3 separate regions of the Homo sapiens genome follow, and regions 2 and 3 are each linked to region 1. The links are contacts of gene promoters, found by promoter capture Hi-C in blood cells and fetal thymus (Javierre and others, 2016). All regions are on one chromosome and are shown on one strand. Each heading gives the region's core, a stretch centred on a gene start or on the middle of the fragment in contact. The rest is flanking DNA. Distances are from core to core; before and after follow the strand shown. Region 1 holds the start of SSRP1 (structure specific recognition protein 1). Region 2 holds the start of UBE2L6 (ubiquitin conjugating enzyme E2 L6). Region 3 holds the start of SMTNL1 (smoothelin like 1).

Region 1 (2,629 bases), core at 71-2,570:
CAAGCAATTCTCATGCCTCAGCCTCCTGAGTAGCTGGGATTATAGGCACCCGCCACCACGCCTGGCTAATTTTTGTATTTTTAATAGAGACGGGGCTTCACCACGTTGGCCAGTCTGGTCTCAAACTCCTGACCTCAAGTGATCTCCCTGCCTTGGCCTCCCCAAGTGCTAGGATTACAGGTGTGAGCCACCGTGCCTGGCCGGGGATGTTTTCACCTTGTTCAAGTTTCCTCAAATCTGAGAAGTGTGCTAAAGTAGTAATAGGCCCTCAATATCTATTTATTAAACCCAGTTGAATTTATTTTGCTAGATAATGCTGGAATAGCCACTACTCAGAGGTTAAAGCTATGAGTTCAGGGGAGAAGGGTGCATTCCTGTTGTCTCTTACCCCAGGATTGATTTAGCAAGCTGGTGTATTGATTGTCAGGGAAATCTTGAGCTTACATATTCTGTACTAATGTCTTCATGTAGGACACATATCAATAGTCATTCTGAACATACAGTCACTGTGATTATGACAGAAGATAACTGGACTGGTGGTGTTAAGGAGGTCTGGGTCCTACCTAGCCTTGTTGCCAACGCACTGAGACCCTGGGCAACTCACTCCCCTTTGGGTCTCAGTTTTCCCATCAGTAAAAGGAGGTTGGGGTAGAAAAACTAAAACATCTTTTCCAGGTCTGGTCTCTGATGTTGCAAAATGCACTCTGGGATTATACGGGGGAGACCTGGCTTCCGCAACCACAGGATGATGTGGTTTCAAATCAGTTCTGGCTCCAAGGTGAATCTGACACCAGGACTTGAACTGGATAAGGCCGTTTGCCAGCCTCTTGGAGGTACCTATAATTTTCGGTTAAGGATGTGAAAATTTTGGGTGTAGACAGTGAACTTGACAGTTCAGCCAGAAAGCAGTGCACCCACGATGACACCAACACCCGCATACTCTCCGCAGCCAGTGGGAGAGGTCGTTTCCTCCCACAACTGTTCAAATACTTCTCTTCTTGTCCCATCGACTCCTTTCCATGACATAGAAACTATTTTGCAGAGAAACGGGCACGCATCATTCCAATACACACCCCCACCCCACCCCTGTACTAAGTCTGATACAATAAAACTACACAATTTCTCTTTAGTATCTAGTCTCGACTGAAGAAGTGTCTGTAGTTTCTAAAGAGCCCTACACACATTTTCTAGGCCGGATTCCCCCTGGGTGAGAGAGGCTTCACGGCAACCACCCTTCCCTCAGGTCCTCCAGAGTCGCTGACGCTCTATGCGACTGTCTCGCAGGCGGGCCCGACTCGCGTCTCTCTAGCCAGCTCATCCTCTCTGTGGCCTGTGTACGGCTTCCGGTGGCGGGACGCGGGGCCGCGCACGCGGGAAAAGCTTCCCCGGTGTCCCCCCATCCCCCTCCCCGCGCCCCCCCCGCGTCCCCCCAGCGCGCCCACCTCTCGCGCCGGGGCCCTCGCGAGGCCGCAGCCTGAGGAGGTAGGTGGTGGTCGTCCCCGGTCCCAGGAAGGCAGGGGCCCCGCTCCCCCACGGGACCCTCGACATGGACCATTCCGCGTTCGCAACCGCGGGGAGCGGGCGAATCCATTATGTGGGGCGGGGGTGAACCGTGGGTCTGGGGCCGCGGGGTGGTGGGAGCGGTGCGAGGGAAACCCTGCACTCTGAGCTGGATTGGGTCGCGTGCGATGTGCGGGCTCCTGGCAGACCCTGGGGTTCCGCTGCTCGTTGCCATGGCTCCCGCCGGAGCGGCCAGAGCGGGCGTCGGGTTGGGTGTCAGCGGTATTCCGGGCCCGGTTCTCCACCCAGGCCTGGACCTGGACCCTCGGGCACTGCAGCGTCCGTCTGTAGGTTTCCAGGCAGAGGAAATCCTGAGACATCCAGGCGCAGCTGGGAGTTGCTACCTGGCTCCATCCGTGAGCACAGCGAGGTGCTGTCTTTCATGCTTATCTGTCTTCCTCTTGAATTCAGATTCCCAACCTGCTGAGCATCCGCACACCCACTCAGGAGTTGGGGCCCAGCTCCCAGTTTACTTGGTTTCCCTTGTGCAGCCTGGGGCTCTGCCCAGGCCACCACAGGCAGGGGTCGACATGGCAGAGACACTGGAGTTCAACGACGTCTATCAGGAGGTGAAAGGTTCCATGGTGAGAATGGCTTGGACAGGTGATACAAGTAGAGAGAAGGAAGGAGGGTAGAGTTTTTGTCCATTAATGAGAGCTTGCTTTGGTAACGTTATTTTGGAAAAAGAAGACTCAGTATAATGTGTACCTAGTGTCTCCACCAACTCAAGGCAATACTGAGAGATAGTCTCAGAGTTATAGGGACCGTATATGCTGTTCAGTTCCCAATTCCTGTTTTACAAATGAGGAAACTGAGAATCTGTTAAGGGTTCTAGATACCAGAGTCTGGTTTAGAATCTAGACTCCTTGGCACCCTCAGCTGTTGCTCCTGCATTGATAATCTGGCCAGTCCACTTGCAGCAGGAATGTGTGTTAGGTAGAGCTGTAGAACCCAGGACATGCTGTGTACTGTCTCCATGCATCTGGGCCTGCTTTTCTTACAGAATGATGGTCGACTGAGGTTGAGCCGTCAGGGCATCATCTTCAAGAATAGCAAGACAGGCAAAGTG
Region 2 (2,629 bases), core at 83-2,582, 230 kb before region 1:
GGCGGGTGGATTACTTGAAACCAGGAGCTCGAGACCCTGACTCTACTAAAAATACAAAAATGAGCCGGTCGTGGTGGCGCGCGCCTGTAAATCTCAGCTACTCAGGAGGCTGAGGCACGAGAACAGCTTGAACCGGGAGGCGGAGGTTGCAGTGAGCCGATATCGCCACTGAACTCCAGTCAGGGCGACAGTGAAACTCTGTCAGAAAAACAAGAAACAAAAAAACTGTGAGGTACTGAGATCACAAACTGGTGCTCAAAATATACTGATTTCCTTTCTCGTCTGGACTAAACGGGGGTAGGGAAGGGTGAGAAGGAGGGGATCGGCCCTCCCAACAAGTCTCATCTTCCCCAGATGCTGCTTGGTGCTCAGGGGCTGCAAGTACTCTGTCCTTGCACAGAGGGTTGGGGACTCCAGCTGTGCATGGGGGCACACATTAGGCCCACAGCTTGTAATGGACCAGTAGTAAAGTAAGGGAGGGGAAGCAGACTCTCTCTTGGAAAGGAGGCTCCTGAGTCCTTCTTGGGGCTTCCCCCACCAACTGTTTCCCAAACCAGCATACAGTAGGCACTTAGTAAATACTAAACCTAGTAAAGGACTGAATGATGGTAGACCGAACCCCCAAAGCAAAAGAGAAAGGGTCCAACAGCGCCTCCTTGCGGTGCTCTGCCCCAAGCCACGGGGAGAAACGTTGCAGCCCGCGCCGAACGCCGGGCAGCACAAAGGATCCCCGACTGCCGGGGAGCGGTGCTCGGAGGGCACAGGTCTACGCCATCCCCCACGCAGTTTCGGAGATGGAGCGCTGGGCCCATGGAGGGAAGGCGGCAGGCTCGGCGGCTCCGGCAGCTTGCTGGGGCAGGGGCTCAAGGCGGCAGTCCGATAGTGGAGGCCGCTGAGAACTGTCACGGAGCTGCGTCTGTACAGCGAGCATCCCTTATTTATTCAGGGCGAGTGTGTATTTGGGGCGGCGTGCAGGGGGCTGACAAAGACCGGAGAGCTCCCGGTGCGGCCGCCGGCGGAGCGAAGACTGGAACCCGTATGAGCGCCCCCCAGCGCCCCTGAGCGCTCGCCGCCGGTGCACGGCGCACCCCGCGGGAGGCAGGGATCAGCAAAGCCGTGCGCCCCGAGGCCCGCCCCCGTCTCCGCACAAAGACCGTGAGTCCCGGGTCCGAGCCTTCCGCGCGGGGATCGGGCGGTTGTCCGGCGGGTCGTCCTTCGACGGCCTCCTGGCCTCGCCGGAGCGGGTGCGGGGAGGCCCACGCAGCGACGGCTGGAGGAGGGGTGGGCGGGGCTGCCGGGGGTGGGGTCCCCGGGGCGGGGCGGGGCGCGCTGTGTCGCGGGTCGGAGCTCGGTCCTGCTGGAGGCCACGGGTGCCACACACTCGGTCCCGACATGATGGCGAGCATGCGAGTGGTGAAGGTAACCGCGTATAGGATGACCCCTTTCTCTTGGCTCCCCTCGCCTCCCGCATTCCCTCCTCCCTCCATCCCCTCCGCGGCTCTCCGAGCACATTTATTTATTTGTCTGGGCACCAGGGCTGGCTGAATCCCTGTCCTCCCCGCCCTCTACTCAGAGGAGGACTGGCCTGCAAGAGTGGCCAGAGCTGGGGTTTTGGGGGTTTGGAGGCCTCTGCTTGAGCCGTTCGCGTGGTGAAGATGAGCCGGCTCCCCCAAAACTGGTTTCAATTTCGCTTTTCCTGCCTGAAACTTGTGATAACAACTGGGTGCATCTCCAGTGCAGGAAAAGTCCTTGGCATCTTGGTGCCAGGCATTCTGCTACTGCTGGTGGTGGGTTATGAACACAGATGACCAGGATGAAGTCCTTGCCTTGGAATAAGCCCATAGCCCATCCCATAATTTGATGCCTGTATTACTAGAGTCCTGAGAAACACGGAATGCTGATTAGAATTTGGGACAAAGTTCCCTGAGTATTCTCTGGAGGAAAAGATGCGGAGGTGGACCTGGAAGGCCTCCTGGAGTAGGTGGCTTGCGTTCGTGAGTTCTACAAGTGTTGAATGCCTACATGTGCTGGCCCTGTTCTAGGAGGGGGGGGGGGGCGGGCAGAGATGAACACAAATCCGGCCCTTGTTGAATTTTGTTCCTATCAGGGACACAATTTGAAATAAGATCTGGAAGGATGGGGAGGGGGCAGTTTCCTCCAGAAGGTGGGAAAACCCAGGGTGTTTGGAGATGGATTAGGGAGGAAGGTGATCCTGGTGAAGTGAGTCTGGCACCCCAAGTCTTTCAGAAGTGCCCCTTCCAGTCTGCAGGGTGGAGGGGCAGGCTCTAGGAAGAGGGTGCCTGCTACCCTCAGCCTCTGAGAAGAAAATGGCCTCAGACTGGGATGCCCAGAGCAGGCTTGGCCTAGATACTAAATCTGGAGGTTGGCAGCAAAATGAGGCAGAGGGTCTTTCCAGCCAAGTGGAAGAGAGATGGGAGCCAGAATTTATTGCATTGGAACCATTACATGCCAAACGGTTTACATGGTTATTTCATCTAATTCGCACAGCAGTTCTGTGAGATAAGTAATATATACCCGCATTTTACAAATGAGGAAATTGAGGCACAGAGGAAATAACTTGCTTGTCCAGAGTCTTTCAGTAAGGAGCAATGGGACTGGAATATGAAAC
Region 3 (2,629 bases), core at 51-2,550, 200 kb before region 1:
GAGAAACCAGGACGCCACCACCCACCCCCAGCATTCACAGCCCTACAGCAGTTTACAGCTTATGCTGCGGAGGCCCTGCTTTCTCTTGGTCATTTCTTGCTCCGACCCTTCAGAATAGGTTATTGGCCCCATTAGGGAGCCAATGGGGATTTCAGGCTCAGGGAGTTGAAGTCCCTTGACTAAAGTTATAGGACAAGTGGCCTGGCTCTCTATCTAGAATCCAAGTATCCCAACTTCCACTCCAGAGCTCACATCAAATATATGCTCCCACTAGCTCCGCAGCCCAGTGTCCCTACAAAGGCCCTGGCCCAGAGTGGGGGCACCCCACCAGTTGGGAAGGGCAGTCAGATTCAGCCGAGGAGTTCCTCCCTCTTTCTTCTAGGTGCACAGTAGGCCCTTCATGAAAGTTTCTCTGCCCCCACCTTCCTTTCTTATTCTCTCCTTTCCTTCCTCCTTCCTTCCCCAGGAAGTCTCCAAACCATCCCTGTTTTGTGTCCAAAGCAGCACTGCAGATATCTCCCCTCCCTCTCTCTTCCTGTTTCTTCTGGCAGACCAGGAGGAAAGGGACCCAGGAGCCCAAGATCCAAACTCCCAGTAGTATAAACACTGGATGTTCTGTGGTGCGTCTGCCACCCACTGCAGCCTCATCTGTCATCTGGTTGTCCTAAGGCTTCCACCTTCCCCACTCAGCCAGGGGCCCTCCCTTGGAGAGGCCGACCTCAATTGCTTAGACTAGGGGTATCCAATCTTTTGGCTTCCTTGAGCCACACTGGTAGAAGTAGAAGTGTCTTGGGCCACATGTAAAATACGTTAACACTAACGATAGTGGATGAGCTAAAACAAAAATTGCAAAAAAAAAAAAAATCTCATAATGTTTTAAGAAAGTTTATGAATTCATGTTGGGCTACATTCAAAGCCATCCTGGGCCACAGGTAGCCTGTGGGCTGGACAGGCTTGGCTTAGACAGTCTACCCCCCAACCCAGTTTGACTCTTGAGACTCCCAAGGTCCCCTCCCCTGCTCTGTGGCCTCCTCGTGGATGGCCACTTGCAGTCTGCTCTGTAGGTGCTCTGGTGCAGGGCTGAGACCCCAGGCATCTAAAGAGAGTAGACATTGTGGTGGAGAGAATTAGAAAGGAGCCTGGATTTCTCCAAATGGGGGGCCCTCCTGGGAGGCTCTGGCCCTTGGACAGTGGGAGTGAGAATTGGCAGATGGGGAGGGACCCTTAGAAAGGGTGCCAGGGCTTCTCCTACCTGTGGGGCTTCTGCCTGTGGCTTGGGAGCTGTCTCTTTGCTCCAGCTGAGTGGCCTCACTCCCAGGCTGCCTTTAAGCCCCAGTGGCCTCTAGCCCCCAGCTCTTTGGTCCCGCCTCCCCCCTTCCTCTCCCTCTTCCACCCCACCCCCACTTCAAGAGTCTTGGGCTGCCTGAAGAGCATTGTTTACTGGCCTGTTGGTACAACACTTTACCCTAGACTGGGAGGCTCGGATTTCCCGTGGAAGATCTGACAGGTGGCACCTTTCAATCACGGCACGTCCCTTCCGCCCTGAGCCTGGCAGCATCCGTCCTGTGGTCATCTTTCTCCCCAGTGGACTCTCCTAACCCTAGGGACCTTGACAACCATCTTCAGGACTCATTTAGAGCATGGCCCTGGCCTCCACTGCTCATCCAGAGCCCAGGCGAGGCCTCTTGTGCTCCCTTCACACCCACCCCGCCACGTTCCTTACATAGCCCCTTTCCCTCGTCCTCAGACAAAAGCAGCTGCTTAAGGCTGGGCTAAGGAGGGGGCGAGTAGGGCAGCTGCCAACACAGGGGATGTGTCTTGGGGCTCACAGTTGACTGAGAGATTTGGAGGGGGAGGGGCAGAGAGGGCAAAAGTGATGGGACAAGCTGACGGATCACTGGACGGAGCCTGGAAAATACAAAACTCCTGAGTTCTATTTTGAGCTGAAGTGACAGGTACACAGTAGGCTCTGAACACATTTTTATACTGAACTGACATTTTGCTAAGAAAAAAACAAAACAAGCCTGGGCATGGTGGCTCATGCCTGTAATCCCAGCACTTTGGGCAGCCGAGGCGGGTGGATTGCTTGAAGCCAGGAGTTCAAGAACAGCATGGTCAACAGGGTGAAACCCTGTCTCTACTACAAATACAAAAATTGGCCGGGCTTGGTGGCGCATGCCTGTAATCTCAGCTACTTGGGAGGCTGAGGCACGAGAACTGCTTGAACCTGGGAGGCAGAGGTTGCAGCAAGTCACTGCACTCCAGCTTGGGTGACAGAGACTCCATCTCAAAAAAAAGTCTTCACTTTCTCTGTGTGTTTTACAATCTAAGAAAGGCACTACTTTTGGAGAATGGGTGCAGAGGACACTCCCACGAAGCTTGGGATCCCCCCCAGTCCTCCTACCCCAAGCCCCACCACTGGGCCACACTGGCCTCCTTCCTATTCCTTAAATAAATCCATCCCTTTTCAGACTCAGGACTGGTTTTTCCTTCTACTCTTTGTAAGACTGCCTCCCTCTCATTCTTCTGGACTTAGCTGAAATTTCATTCCCTCAGAGAGGTTTTCCATGACCTTCAATTCCTCTCCCTCATTTCAGCAGTTTTTATTGTCCTCATAATACTAAATCTA

Evidence for each region. The method cuts DNA at HindIII sites, captures the fragments that hold promoters and counts their contacts. A CHiCAGO score of 5 or more calls a contact.
Region 2: a contact is called between the fragment with the promoter of UBE2L6 here and the fragment with the promoter of SSRP1 in region 1, in 8 of 17 cell types (M1 macrophages, M0 macrophages, activated CD4 T cells and 5 more). The highest score is 11.4, in M1 macrophages.
Region 3: the fragment with the promoter of SMTNL1 here is called in contact with the fragment with the promoter of SSRP1 in region 1 in 12 of 17 cell types (M0 macrophages, erythroblasts, activated CD4 T cells and 9 more); the score reaches 11.7 in M0 macrophages.

The regions. Positions count from the first base shown.
Region 1 is chr11:57,334,583-57,337,211 of GRCh38, reverse strand. It overlaps SSRP1 (structure specific recognition protein 1), which reads left to right and starts at 1,320. Exons shown (of 17, transcript NM_003146.3): 1 at 1,320-1,482; 2 at 1,972-2,144; 3 at 2,564-2,629. The coding sequence starts at 2,091. It also overlaps a transcript of P2RX3 not described here. RefSeq lists enhancers at 1,182-1,231, 2,082-2,151 and a silencer at 1,402-1,581. The HindIII fragment of the contact is 4,158 bases long and covers 1-1,382 here.
Region 2 is chr11:57,566,375-57,569,003 of GRCh38, reverse strand. It overlaps UBE2L6 (ubiquitin conjugating enzyme E2 L6), which reads left to right and starts at 1,332. Exons shown (of 4, transcript NM_004223.5): 1 at 1,332-1,419. The coding sequence starts at 1,393. RefSeq lists a silencer at 969-1,328 and an enhancer at 2,582-2,629. The HindIII fragment of the contact is 19,025 bases long and covers 1-2,629 here.
Region 3 is chr11:57,536,266-57,538,894 of GRCh38, reverse strand. SMTNL1 (smoothelin like 1) reads right to left here and starts at 1,300. Exons shown (of 8, transcript NM_001105565.3): 1 at 1,253-1,300. The HindIII fragment of the contact is 14,036 bases long and covers 1-2,380 here.